Regions from separate parts of the Homo sapiens genome. Here region 2 is linked to region 1. Evidence: promoter capture Hi-C in 16 types of primary human blood cells and fetal thymus (Javierre and others, 2016). All regions are on one chromosome and are shown on one strand. Each heading gives the region's core, a stretch centred on a gene start or on the middle of the fragment in contact. The rest is flanking DNA. Distances are from core to core; before and after follow the strand shown.

What was found. The method cuts DNA at HindIII sites, captures the fragments that hold promoters and counts their contacts. A CHiCAGO score of 5 or more calls a contact.
Region 2: a contact is called between a fragment that was not itself captured here and the fragment with the promoter of SPINK6 in region 1, in 2 of 17 cell types (monocytes and endothelial precursors). The highest score is 7.9, in monocytes.

What each region holds. Positions count from the first base shown.
Region 1 is chr5:148,199,274-148,206,323 of GRCh38, reverse strand. It overlaps SPINK6 (serine peptidase inhibitor Kazal type 6), which reads right to left and starts at 3,282. Exons shown (of 4, transcript NM_205841.4): 1 at 3,170-3,282; 2 at 266-288. The coding sequence starts at 3,227. The HindIII fragment of the contact is 4,979 bases long and covers 2,055-7,033 here.
Region 2 is chr5:148,367,184-148,374,233 of GRCh38, reverse strand. All of the region lies in intron 2 of FBXO38-DT (FBXO38 divergent transcript), which reads left to right. Among named protein-coding and RNA genes, the nearest start is that of FBXO38-DT, 13 kb to the left of the region's middle. The HindIII fragment of the contact is 1,518 bases long and covers 3,464-4,981 here.

The DNA of each region.
Region 1 (7,050 bases), core at 2,033-4,532:
AATGATAGAGCATGAATTTTATCCCAGATACATCCTATTTTTTATTTATATTTATTCTTCCCTAAAAAATTATGAGAATGTGTGGTTAGGTTCTTTTAAACTGACAAGAGTTTAGTTAAAGAATAATAATTTCTGCTGATGTCTGCATAAGGTTTGCCTGCTCATTGTTTTTGCTCTGTTAACCATAGACAAATTTCTTTTTGGCCAGTGAAGATCAAGCCAAGCACCACCCAGGCAGAAAGCAGAGATAAAAATAGGCACTGACCTGTCCTCCCTGACTGAAGACACCTGAAAGAAAAGCACAACATTCAAACACTGTAATTCATTGATGTACAAAAAGTGAAATTTTCAACATTAGGAAATTCCTAATATCTACTCCTGGTACTTGGCTATCTTAAAAAGTCATCGTATTTTTTTTGTTTGTTTTTGTTTTCTTCTTCTTCTTCTTTTTTTTTTTAATCTGCTCACTTCTTAAGAAGGTCATATAAAGACATGAACCATGAGGAGGTAACAATTGTTGGAGGTTAGGGTGGGGTAGAAAAAAAATGGATTAAGGATCTGGAAATTCATGTTACAGTCCTAGCCCAGTCACTAATTTACTACGAAAATGACCTTATCATCGCTGGTCTCACTGTGGAGAAGTTGAATTGGAAAGTATCCTCTACCTTTGACATTTCAAGGTTCATTTCATGCAGTTCCTCCCAAAAGCCTTTGCCACAGGCAGTTGGGAAAGAGATTAAGCTTGTAGTTTGTTCTTTGAGTTTGAAATTGCTCAACTTTTAAAACTTGGCCCAAATATAAACTGGTAAGGAACAACTCATTCATTCTTGTGACTTATTTCTCCTTTTACATCTCTCTAAATTCCTAAAAAGGGAAAAGATCCCATATATATAGTCTTGTTTCTCTCCCTTTTCCTTTCTCTTAATATTGTATGTGTAATTTTAGTTTGTGTGACTAATTAGTTCAGTGGTTTAAAATACTTAAATAATAAAATCCCTCAATCCAGTCTTGGAATGGGCTGCTGAGTTTTGATGTGTGGCCATTCCTATGGGACTCCTTTCCCAATCCCTCTGACACATAAGCCCAAGAGCACTGCAATGAGAGAGAGTGTGGGTTAGCGGAATCCATCTCCAATGATGGCCAACACTTATGGGATAACAACCGGAAATTCCTTAAAGCACAATCTCTAATAATAAAGATAAGGAGAAAACAAGCTGTTGTTTTTTAATTTGAAAGAAGGTTACTGTTCATTTTTTCAGCAGTGATTACCAGCCTTATTGATTTATAACTAGCAATATGGGTGATTATTAAAATGACAAATTCTTAGGGCAATCACTTAAAAATTCTATTATATAAAACCAGAGAGTTCCTGGACAGTCCATATTTTTTAAAGACTCTAAGTGGTTTTTATAGCCAGGGATATTTTATTATTAGAATTTTCAGTAAGTCTCCACTGTACAAATCTGTCATCAAAAGAGGAGAGATTTGCCTAATGTCTCATACGTAGGAATTGGCAAGGCAAAAACAGGATTAATATTCACAATGACGGAGTCCAATTTAGTACTCTTTTTATTAAACTTTATTATGGCAATAATGTTAATAGACATTTGTTAAACATGCACTATACCCCATCCACTATGTTAAGCATTGTACATGCCTTTTTCTCATTTAATTCTCCACACAGAGATAGTCCTTTATATGTTTATTTTATATATAAGTGAAATAAACATCAGAGAGTTCACAAAGCTATAAAATGAAAGTGCCAGGGCTAAAATTCACTTTACTCTGTTTCAGCATTAAGGCCCTTAGGCATTATGGCCTCCCAAATACTATCTAGTATGTCTGTGAAGCATCCATGCTTTGGTAAACTGTATTAGTCAACCAGATCCTGTTAAAGATCAATTCACCTTTGTAAAGAGAAGAAAAGGAAATAACAATTGATTTCTGAGACTATCTTTGCAGCTAAACTTTACATAGTCAGATATATATTTTTCTGCCATCTCAGCAACTGATTGAACTACCCATTAAGGTTATTTGGCTTTAGTAGTCAAGCTTACTCCATAATATCACAGGAATCCTTTACCCATTTTTTTTGTATTTCTAAGTGTATTTGTTTTTGTAATTATGACCAGCTACAGTGAACACTGGCTTCTCTATCAGCTAAATCTCATTGATTTTTTTTTTACTTGTACATCCATTTAAAATCTTGCATAGTAGTAAAATTCATCTGCTACTGTCACACAAAATGATACATAAGATATGGAAGGTCCCAGGGCTTAGTTTTATTTCTATTATTTTACAAATGACAAAATATCTCAGAAAATTATGTTATTTCTTTAAGTGACACAGGCCATTAATAGAAGAGATGAAACTAGGTCTTAGGTCTAAAAACTAGCATTTGCTTTGTGCCCTACAACGTGAAAGAGTAGAATAATAAGGAAGAAAATAGCTTATGATGGACCTGCTCATTCCGATGGTTCTGTCTTAAAAAACATAACCTTGAAGTATGATTGTGCTTTGAACCTCACTAAAGTGTCCAAAGATATTCTCCTTCTCTAAGATTATTTAGCTCACCAGAAACATATGTTTCTGCATTCTAAGTTTCAATTACATATTTTCAAAGATTTTTCTCATTGAGTTTCCAATTTCCCCATTGTCTTAATTTAATTATTTGAATGTCTTTGTAATAATAACTAAGGGGAGGAAAATATTTCTTTGTTCTGGAAAGCAAAACCAATATTTAATGCAATTATCCATCCTCCAATCTAGTTTTATGGAACAAACATTAAATGTGATGGCAAGAGAATCTGATTCAAATTCCAGATTCTAACTACTAGTTGCAAGTCTTTTGCTGATTTTCTCAATTTCTCTGTTCCACAGTTTCTTATATGAAGAACAGAGATAGAAATACCTTATTATGAGTCTCAGAGACAATACATAAAATCCCTTCGTACATGCCTAGAATATAGTATATGCTCAACAAATCACAGTAATTTTAATAATTATTACCATAACCATTGTCGTCATCACAATCATTATCATCATTATGATAATCTCTCAGAATTGGTCTTTTACATCAAAATCATTAGGATTTAAAATATGATAAACAACTACTCATCATATCCAGTTCAGTATAAATATGGGATCTTAATTTTAAGAAAAAACTTACCTGTTAAAAAGCAGAAAAGAGCCAGAGAGAGGAGCAGAAACATGCCTGACAGTTTCATTGTGTCAGTTAGCTCACTCAGATCAAGGCTGCTTTGTCCAGCTGAGGTTCTCTGTCAAGACAATTCCCAGAAAGCCCTAAAATACATTCAGACCACATGAGTCCTATGCAGTTTATGCATTTAATGGGGCCTGCCAACACATTAAAAAAATGCTTCATGCTCCCCATCAATCTTAAAAATTGGGACAATTATGTGTGTCGCACCTCAGATCTTATTAATAGAGAATGTCATTTTCTACTGGTAGCCTACATTTTCCTAACAACCAATACATCCTCCCGGCTCTTCTTTCTAAAGTTTCACTACATTATAGGGATGATTCACTGGTTGACTTCCACTTGATTCTTATATTTCTTTCAGACAGGTCCTACATGTCTGTGGTCCAAGTGAGTAACCACAGGATAATGGAATCTTGGGTGTAACTTGGATTTTTAGAGTCCAGATCATCCAAGGTGTACCTAAAGGAGACAGATATTCCACACTGTAGCTAGAACTGCATTAGAAGAAGCATTTTCTGAGCAGGAATCAGCTTATTAATTTTTAAATCATTATAGCAGTCAAATGCCAGTGGTTGTCCAGTTTTGAGTCAAAATAAATAGGGAAGTCAATTATTTTCTTTAATTTGTAACAAAAATTTGTTTTTTAAAGTTACTGAATTTAATTTTCTTTTTTTTTTTTCTTTCTTTTTTTTTTTTTTTTTTGAGATGGAGTCTTTCTCTGTTGCCCAGGCTGGAGTGCAGTGGTGCAATCTTAGCTTACTGCAGTCTCTGCCTCCCGGGTTCAAGCGATTCTCCTGCCTCAGCCTCCCGAGTAGCTGGGACTACAGGTGCCTGCCACCATGCCTGGCTAATTTTTGTATTCTTAGTAGAGACGGGGTTTCACCATGTTGGCCAGGCTGGTCTCAAACTCCTGACCTCATGATCCGCCTGCCTCGGCCTTCCAAAGTGCTGGGATTATAGGCGTGAACCACTGTGCCTGGCCTGAATTGAATTTTTGAAATGAGCAATATATTTCCTTTTACTTTTCATATAAAAGTTAGATGAATCACATTATCTTTCATGGCCAATTTAATTGCAAGATAGATCAAAGAGTGCGATGCCACAACCTTCTTTCAGGAAACAGCAACAAAAAAGAATGGTTGTAGTGATAACAAGAACGTCTACCTCAAATCATAAACTGCTATTGAAAATATCATGAGGGAAATCATCTTAAAGTCCTTTACAGAAAGATGTAGGTCAGATGTTAAAAGTATTCAAAGACACTACTGAAAAACCTTAAAAACTATATTTAAAATTTTCTTGAATCCTTTATGGGAAGAGGAGTCAAAATAGCTAGAAAAACAAAATATATGGGAAATTGCTTAAGTCATGAAATTTAAAAACAACAGTTGTACAATTTACCCATTTGTGATCTTTAAGTATGTTTTCTCATTCATATGAGATAATATAAAGATCAGTTCCTAAAACTAAAGCATTGCATAGCATGGTTTTAGGTACTGCTGTGACCTTCCTCCCTCTTTCCATTCTACTTCCTATGTTTCTTCCTTCTTTGACCACCTTTTTTTCCCTCCTTCTGTGACTAGAATGTACAGAATTAGTCTAATAATAATCATGTCCAAAAGTGACAAAAGTTTGAAAGCATAAACAAATAGTAATAAAAAAAATCAACATAACAGTGGTAGTCGATCATATGCCATCATTAAATTCACGGTGATGTTTCTAAACTTCCTGTTTAAACTTCTTCCTCTCTCCCCAGAGTTTCATTTTTGGTCCTTGCTTCTCATATTCACCTCTACACTCTCAGTCACTGTTCACCTAAATATTACCATCTCCCTATCTTCCAGTCTTTCCTTCCCTGCTTTCCTCTGATCTTCAAGAGTTCTTTTTTAATAGGTGATTTTTTAATAGAATTATTCTTATTTAGAATGACTCTGTCCTCTTTTTCAGAATGTTTTCAATTCTCTATCCTCAACATTTACACTACCTACCACAAAAACGCTTAGGAACATGAAAGCACATATTAAGTATTGGCTCTGGATAGACATAGGGAAGGAAATATTATATCATAAATATATATAGTTTAAGAAAGAATCTGGTCCCTAATGATTGAATTATCCTTTTTCTTAGGTTTCTGAGGCCATATGAAAGTTTTTGGTTTTGTTTTAATACAACCTAAAGGAAAAGGTAAGAAACATTCTCTGGGAAATCACTTAATTGGCTCTTTAAATAAGAAGGTGAAATACTAGAAGTTAATAAATTAAAGGCAATTATTCACAGACTACATAAAATTATAGTCGTTTGGCTGCATAGCAAGTAAAAGACAGTAGTTTGAACTTTGTTTTAATTAATTCCCTGAAGAAAAATAGGAAAAGTTTTAAAAATCTTAACATTAAAGAATAAGTAAATGTCAATATACTGAATCAGGCAAAAGCAAAAAAGAAACAAAAAATAAAAGAAAGGGAGATGTGGGAGAATGCAGTAGAAGCAATGACTCTTATATAGACATACTAGAATGCAGTCCCAACATACGTACAGTGGTCTTCCAAAATATAGCTATGCATACATTTTTATGTAAAGACACAAACCCTGTAAGAATATATTTTCAATGTAAAATTTATTATATAAACATTATACATTTATTAAAAAATTACTATTCATGGTAGCATATAAAATCATCTGCATTTCATTTAATACACATGCAAGAGAATTTAAGGTAAATTTTAATTCTGTCATTTTTTGCTGCCAACTATATATATAATATTATTTCATTTATTGAAATGCAGCTTCATTGCTTTCAGAATGCTTAGCTCTGAATCCAAGGAGATACATATATCTGTGCCTGTGTGTTTTCACATTTTACTTGTTCATATACATTTTCCTTTTCCCACCATTGCTTATATATATTGTAAAATGTATTATTTTGAAATGTCATTTCTCAGACAGCTATGTACTCTATTTTCTCTCAAACCCCTGAACCCTTCCACCATTTAGCATAGGGCATGAAATAGAGGCTTTTTTTGTTAAATAAAAAAAGGACAGCCACCACTTTAATCCAAGAAAGCATTAATCAAGGAAGTCAGTCCTTGCCATTGAATTATAAAGTGATCTTTGTTAACATCCTTAGCTGTACAATAGACTAAAGTCAAGCATTTTTCATTTGCAACTATCCAATCTTTATTCAGAGTGAAGATTGTTTTTCTTAGAACTTCCATTGGACCACTTAGGAAAAGAGGAGAACTGTTTCCTAGGACTAAGAGGAGGGGTTCGGGAAGAGAAGAAAAAGGGGGTTTTCGAGCTTAGACTTCATCGTCCTGGTTTAGTTCAAATTCCTTGGCTGTTGGAGGCATCTAAAGCATTAGTCAGCATATCATGGGTAAAACAGAGTGGGCAGTATCGAGGAAGATATCCAAGTATTTGGACTTTATAGCAGTCTTACAGGAGTCTGTCATGTTGCAATGAAGATCAGAAAAAGCAGCTGAAATCCATAGTCCCCAAGATAGCCAAGTGCTGGGAGGGCTCAAGAACAAGAAGGGTTTTTATTTCAGAACAAGGGACTTTGAGTTAAGAGACATTACAATTGATAGCTTGATGGGGGGAATCATATAACTCAGAAGAGTATGATAACACATGAAACAGATAACAGGGAGCTGGGTAATGGAGAACCAGGCCCTCTATGATACAGTGACCATAGGAGTTTTATTACACTGCAAAAATTCCTGGAGAGATAAAAGTCAATATCTAGGGACCAACTGGTAAGAAATACCTCACCAGGTGCCAATGTCATGTAAATGTCATGAAGTTATGTAAGCTTTGTCCTGGATTCAAAT
Region 2 (7,050 bases), core at 2,973-5,472, 170 kb before region 1:
ATACTCACTCACTACGTACCCACAAAAAATAGCACATTTTTTAAAAGGTTATGTGCAGGAATCGCAAATATATATACTCACTCACTATGTACCCACAAAAAATAGCACATTTTTTAAAAGGTTATGTGCAGGAATCGCAAATAGGTTTTATGTTCCATATCAAATCTGATGACAAGGCATGCCTGGATTACTATGTTGATAAACATTTTGAGGCCACATACAGCTCAGTGGCATGTACTATTTGATTACTGATATCTAATGTGGGCGTGGGGAGAAGCAGGATGGTTGGATGTGATAGACATGTGACATCTATGGTGAGATGTTTCTCAATAGGAGCACTATCAGGATCCTGGATGGGTTAATTTTTCCCTATGCAGGACAGTCATTGTGACAAGTAAAAATTAAGTCCCCACATACTTTAAATACCCTTTATGGGAATAGTACTGCTCTATTAGAAAATTATTAGGTTAAGCCAAGAGTGACTTGATTGATTTAGATTTGCCTGAGGATTGAACTAGAGCTTCTTAAATGCTTCAAGACTAAAAAATGAGGATTTTTTTTTCTAGATCCCGAGACCAGACTGAGCTTGCTATCTGTAGGGAATAGGGACTGAGAATGGGGAGGGGAATGAAGAATTTCTGTTGAAGGGGAGAAGATACTTATGGTGACAGGAGCCAAGTAGAACCTGACAGTAGGTGATTAATGTATCATCCCTGGTTAAGAAAAGCATAGGAGGAACCTCAGCTGTGGGAAAAAGGGGTATCCTGTTAAACATCAGAGTCATTTGGAGTGCCCTTATCCTACCATTTTCATTATTGTTGGGTGTTTCTTTTGCCAGGATGTTGTCTTTATATAACAGTTCTCAGGGAGCTGCCCTCTACTCTGTACCTTTGAATCCACTGAATAAGATCAGCCACTGTAAGTTATTTTTGGAAGAAAACATATGACTCAATGAATAAATACATACATGAGTAAAATATTTCCTACCCCTTAATTTAAGAGTTCATGACCATCTATTTTCATTTTCTTCATGCCCCTGTGAATTCCTGTGGAGAAGAGAGGAAAGGAGCAACAAGAATGGTATTATTGCTGCCTTCAAGTTTTGCCTTTGTCATACTCTTCCAGCCAAAGACTACTAGGAACACACCTATAGTTGTACAAACAGGGCTTATGATTAACTGCAGCCTGTGAGAACACACACCCCTGGGAGCCATAAGGCATGTCAATAGAAGGGTATTAGAAAGGTCTTATTGTAGGATTTGAGATTGTTAGGTTAATTTGGTGGAAGGCTTAAGGAAAAGAGGCTTTGCTTTGGTTTGAATGCCCTCAGAAAGTGGGAGTAATTATTTAGGAGGAGGGAAGAGTAGCTTAAGGCTAAAGTTGTAATTGGTGAAGAAGCAGCAGTCACATTAGTCTAGATAAGTCGATATTTGGTATTTTGTGACTTTGATAATGTTCATGTTTTGCCTGTGTTTAGTCATGATTATTAAGTGGTATTATCTTAGTCTTGATTTCTTCATAGTCACAGAGTAGTTTGTCAGATGTAAACATTCTATGAAATTGTTTATCTCAAATGGAGAACATGAAGGCCCAGATGTAAGTAGAAGACCAACGTGTTACAATGCTAAGGCAAGCTTCTGCATGCCATGGGTTGTTTTACTCCTTCTCACATTTTATCATATTGTTTAATAATCTTTTGTTTTATTGCTCCCTCACTGGACTGTAAAGTGCATGAGTGCACAAACCTGTTTTGATGACCACTGAAGACTGAGTCTAGACAAGTCTCCCAATCTCATAAGTACTTAAAGAGTATTTAGTGAGTAAGTGACTGAATTGTCCAGTTAGCTGATTAGACTGTGAATTGCCCAATGTCAGGGGTTACTTCCTATTCAGCTCTGTATTTCTAGAACCAAACAGTTCTGATGTATGTAATTAAATATATCTCGAGTCAAAGAGGAACTCTCCATAAGATAAGATTTATTGCTTTTCTTTAAAAAATAAGGTAATATAATGAATTCTACTTTATGAATGAGAGATGATGCTTATTTCAAATGGTTTCATTCATGAAAAACAAAGAAAAATCACTTCATATTCAAGATGCAGGGGACTTTCTGCATTTTCCATGGTATTGAATGTTGAGAGTGAGATTCAAAGCTCTAAGAGAAATTGATATAAATATTTACAAACCATTAAAATGAAATATAATCTTTCTTGACCGGCCTAGTTGCATATTATAATCTCTATATTATATAATAATTTTTTGAAAGGAGAGAGAATGAGCCCAACAGGTTGAGGTTGCAGTGAGCCAAGATCATGCCACTGAACTCCAGCCTGGGTAACAGAGTGAGACCCGATAGATAGATAGATAGATAGATAGATAGATAGATAGATAGATAGATAGATAAATGGAGAGAGAACTTGATTTGTAAACTCCTGGCTTACAAATAGCCCATAGCTACAAAGATTTTCCTCTCCCCTCATTATGCACTTTCACCCTGGAGATGCTTCTGATTTGTAATCATGGCAAAACATTATTAGAGCTTTTAACGAATGTGTAAACCTGTATGTTAAAAAGTAGAGCATGAGGAAATCAATAAATTGATAAGGTACCTTGGGAAAATCTTTTCACTTCTCTGAATCAGAATTACCTTGTTGATAAAATGACCATAATGATGGATACCGACTGAGATAGGCTCTTTTGAGGATCACTTTGGAAATAGGCTGTTTTGAGGATCACTTTGGATATGCTCTATGAACTTCAAGAATACTTATTATTGAGACAAAGACCATAATACAAGAAGCATACGCATTACTGGGGCAAAGACCATAATGGTTAAGAACAGGATAAACTCAGGAGTGTAGAAAACATAAATGAAAAATATCTGTCTTCTTCAGCAGAAATGTAATAACAATACCAAGCAAAATACTAAATTTTATACTAAGTTATAGTCAATGAAATTTTGTGTGCGTGTTTCATGCAAAAGTGGCCTATTTTTTTTTTTAAACAAGGTCTCACTCTGTCACCCAGGCTGGAGTGCAATGCCGCAATCTCAGCCCACTGCAACCTCCACGTCCCAGGTTCAAGCAATTCTTCTGCCTCAGCCTCCCGAGCAGCTGGGATTACAGGCACCTGCCACCATGCCTGGCTTTTTTTTTTTATATACATTTTTAGTAGAGACGGGGTTCCACCATGTTGACCAGGCTGGTCTCAAACCCCTGGCCTCAAGTGATCCTCTCAAAAAGTGGCCCATTTTTAAAAAATTTAACAATAGCCACATAGGAGCTACTGTGAAGTTATAAGGAATATTATTCATCTTCCGTACATACTTCCTATTTGACATTGGGCAAGGCAATCAACTTTGGAGTACTTCATTTTTATATGTAAAAGGAAATATCTCTCCCCTGCCTTCCATGTACTTACAGGGGTCCTGTTTGGGAAAGTACTTTCTAACTGTCGTAAGCTTATAACCATATATTATTTGTAGTAGTAGCTTGAGAATAATAGTATCTTATTTTTTATTTTGTTTTCTCAGCACCTAGCAGAGTGTCTGGAACTTTCTAGGTGTTTATTAAACATTCTTGGGATAAATATAAGAACCTGTTTTGAAAACTCCTAAAATTCTGTCCAAATAAAAGTTTCTAGTCATAAGATAAGATAATAGGAATTTAAACTTGTAGGCTCTGGGAGTCAAATTCCTAGATTTGTTTCTTGGTTTTTCTCCCTATAAGCAATTATATCTTGGGTCCCTAAATCTCTCTAAGTGTCAGTTTCATCATCTATAAAATGAAAGGTAATGCCAATTTCAGCTTTGTAGGATTGTTTCGAATACTGAATGAGATAATTTCTATGTGGTACCAAGGACAGAGCTTGGTATGTAATAAGCACTAAATTGAAATCAGGCCTATTTGTAGGTTTTCAAAAGTTTCCTCATTATTTATTCTCTTAAATATTTTATGTTTCTGAGTATATACAATAAATACATTTTTTAAAGTTTAATCATACAATATGCATCATTTGATACATTTTGTAAACTTAATGTTAGGTCATGATTATTTTTTGAAAAGTTAATAGGTGATGTCTAGTGAAGTTTTTTTTTTTTTAAATCATATAGCGCTAAAAAAGGATGAGCCTATAAGCAAAAAGCCAGAGAGATTTGGTGCACTAAAGTGGATCAACCTTTGACTTCCCCAAGATGCAGAAACACAGTACCAGTTAGAACCCGAGCTGGGGTTTGAAGGATGGAGGGAGGCACATGTACAGTTAGTGTAAAGATACGCTTGTCCCCCTCACTTTGTTATGAACATGACCTGGCCACACATTTGGAATGCCTTGATAATCTTAGAAGAAAGCAACTTCAGGCTAACAGAGATAAGTAGAAAAGTTGAGGAACCAGATCAGTCTTATGCATAAACTCCCTCTGAAATAGTGGGCATGGGAAGCAAAATGGATTTCACAACTGACCTGGAATAAGAAGAAGCTGAGCAGTAGGGTGGAGGTGTAGTAAACATCAGAGAATCATGGACAAGGATATTTAAGTGGCAGCACAACAATGGGAAAAGAAGATCTTACGTAAGAAAACTGTACTTCCCTCGAGTTCCACTATTGTGTCTGGAGATGCTAAGAACTATTTGGAAAATGGAAAGTTTGGAAAATATTGGCTTTCATGCAAATAAAGTTAGTGGGCATTAGAGCATTGATATTTGTAGCATTACCATAGACAGTGACACAATTCCATTTACTAACTCTTTTCCAGAAAGTATTAATTATAGATGTGCTATAATTATGTATTATATTATTAGAAACTAATTATATGTTATTAGATCTTTTTTTGTATTTTACCCTTAGAACTACTGTGCAGAACATATCTATGCATTATTCTTTGACAATACGTTTAATACTTCCTGAGGATAGTACCCAGAATAGCCAAACAGTCTGAAAATGAGCAAATTTTAAGAACCCATACTTCTTGACTTCAAAGCTTACTATGAAAATCTACAATAATCAAGAGAGTGTGGTATTGGCACAAAGATAGACATATAGACCAATAGAATAAAATTGAAAGTTCAGAAATAAATCCTTAAATTTGTGGTCAATTGATTTTCAATGAAGGTTATAAAACAATTAAATGAGGAAAGATAAGTATTTTCAACGAACAGTGCTGGGATAGCTGTGTATTTACATACAAAACAATACAGTTGAATTCCCTGCCTCACACCATATACAAATCTAACTCAACATGAGTCAAAGATCTGAATGTAACGGTTAAAACTTAAAACGTTTGGAAGAAAACAGAGGAGATATTTGTGACCTTGGATTAAGCAATGTTTTCTTAGATATGATGCCAAAAACACAAGCAGCAATAGATAAATTGTACTTTATAAAATTAAAATCTCCTGCACTTCAAAGGACACTGTTAATAAAGTGAAAAGAAACCCACATAATGAGAGAAAATATCCGTAAGTCAACATCCATTAAGGAACTAGTATCCAGAATATATAAAAAACTCTTACAACTTAACAATAAAAAGGTAAATAATCTGAGTAAAATGTGAGCAAAGGATTTGAATAGACATTTCTTCAATGAAGCCTATGAAAAGATATATAACATCATTAAATCTTTTGGGAAATGAAAATCATAACCATGGTTTTCATGATTATGATACCACTTCACACCTATTAGGATGGTTATCATTAAAAAGATGAGCAATAACAAGTGTTGGTAAAGATATGGAAAAATTAGAACTCTCATATACTTTTACTGGGATTGTAAAATGCTGCAGCTGATTTGAAAAACAGTTTGGTAGTTCCTCAGTTAAAGTTTTCATATACCCCAGCAATTTAACTCCTAGGTTTATACCCAAGGTAAATGAATGTTCATAGCAACATTATTCATGCTAGCCAAAAGTGGAAACAACCCAATGTCCATTAATGGATGAATGGATAAATGAAAAGTGATATATCTAAACAGTGAAGTATTATTCAGCCATAAAAAGGCACAAATAACTGATGCATCCTACAACATGGATGAATTTTGAAAATCTATACCAAGTGAAAGAAGACAAAAAAGGCCACATGTTATATGATTCCATTTATATGAATTGTCCATAATAGACAAATCTATAAAGACAAAAAGTAGACTAGTGGTTTCCAGGTACTGGGGTGGGGGAGATGACAGAGGGGTAGAGGTTTCTTTTTAATGAAAATTTTTCTGAAGTTAAACAGCAGTGATGGTTGTACAACTCTCTGTATATATTAAGGACCACTGAATTGTATAGTTTAAGAGAGTACATTTATTATTTATCCTATTAAAATTTAAATCCTAAGAATACATTTTTAGCACTGAGAGTTATTTTTTATTTCCCTGAATCCTTGGGATTGCAGAGAAGGGTAAGACAGTAGATTTGGAGAAAGGATGAAATGTGGTTAGCTAATAAAACATTTGGGAGAAGAAGTAGCAATCATCCATGCAGTTTCTCTCCCTTCTATGGAATCCCTTTGTATGCCGTCGAATTATGACCACAACATGAAGGCCTATCAGATGAGGTTTTGAGATCATTTGGAAGATACTGCTGTACTGGCTAAGGCTGACTATGGTATAGGTTATCTGGTCTGAGTGAGTTGGGAAATATGGAAGGAGCACTAGGGGCTGAGTACAAAGGCGTGTTTATGATAGAGTGACCAACCATTCTGGTTTGTCTGTGACTTTCTTATTTTAATATGCAAAGTCTCATGTCTAGGAAAACCCTTAGTCCATGGAAAACTGAAATGGTTGGTCCCCTAGTTAGTAGCAACAAAGGTCAGTCATCTGTTATTTACTAAGGGCTTGCTATGTGACAGGGATTATGCTAAGCCCTCTTGATCCATTATCTTTTTCAATCCTCATAGCCAACCTCTAAGATAATGACTGAGATTATGTTTTCTGCCCTAAGTCACATAAGTTTAAGCAGAAGAGCTGAGGTCCCAATCTAGTTCTATAGGATCAGAGTCTTCATTCTTAAACCCACATTCCATTCAGAGAGTTTGAGCCAAAATAAGTAGTGAATTTTTTTA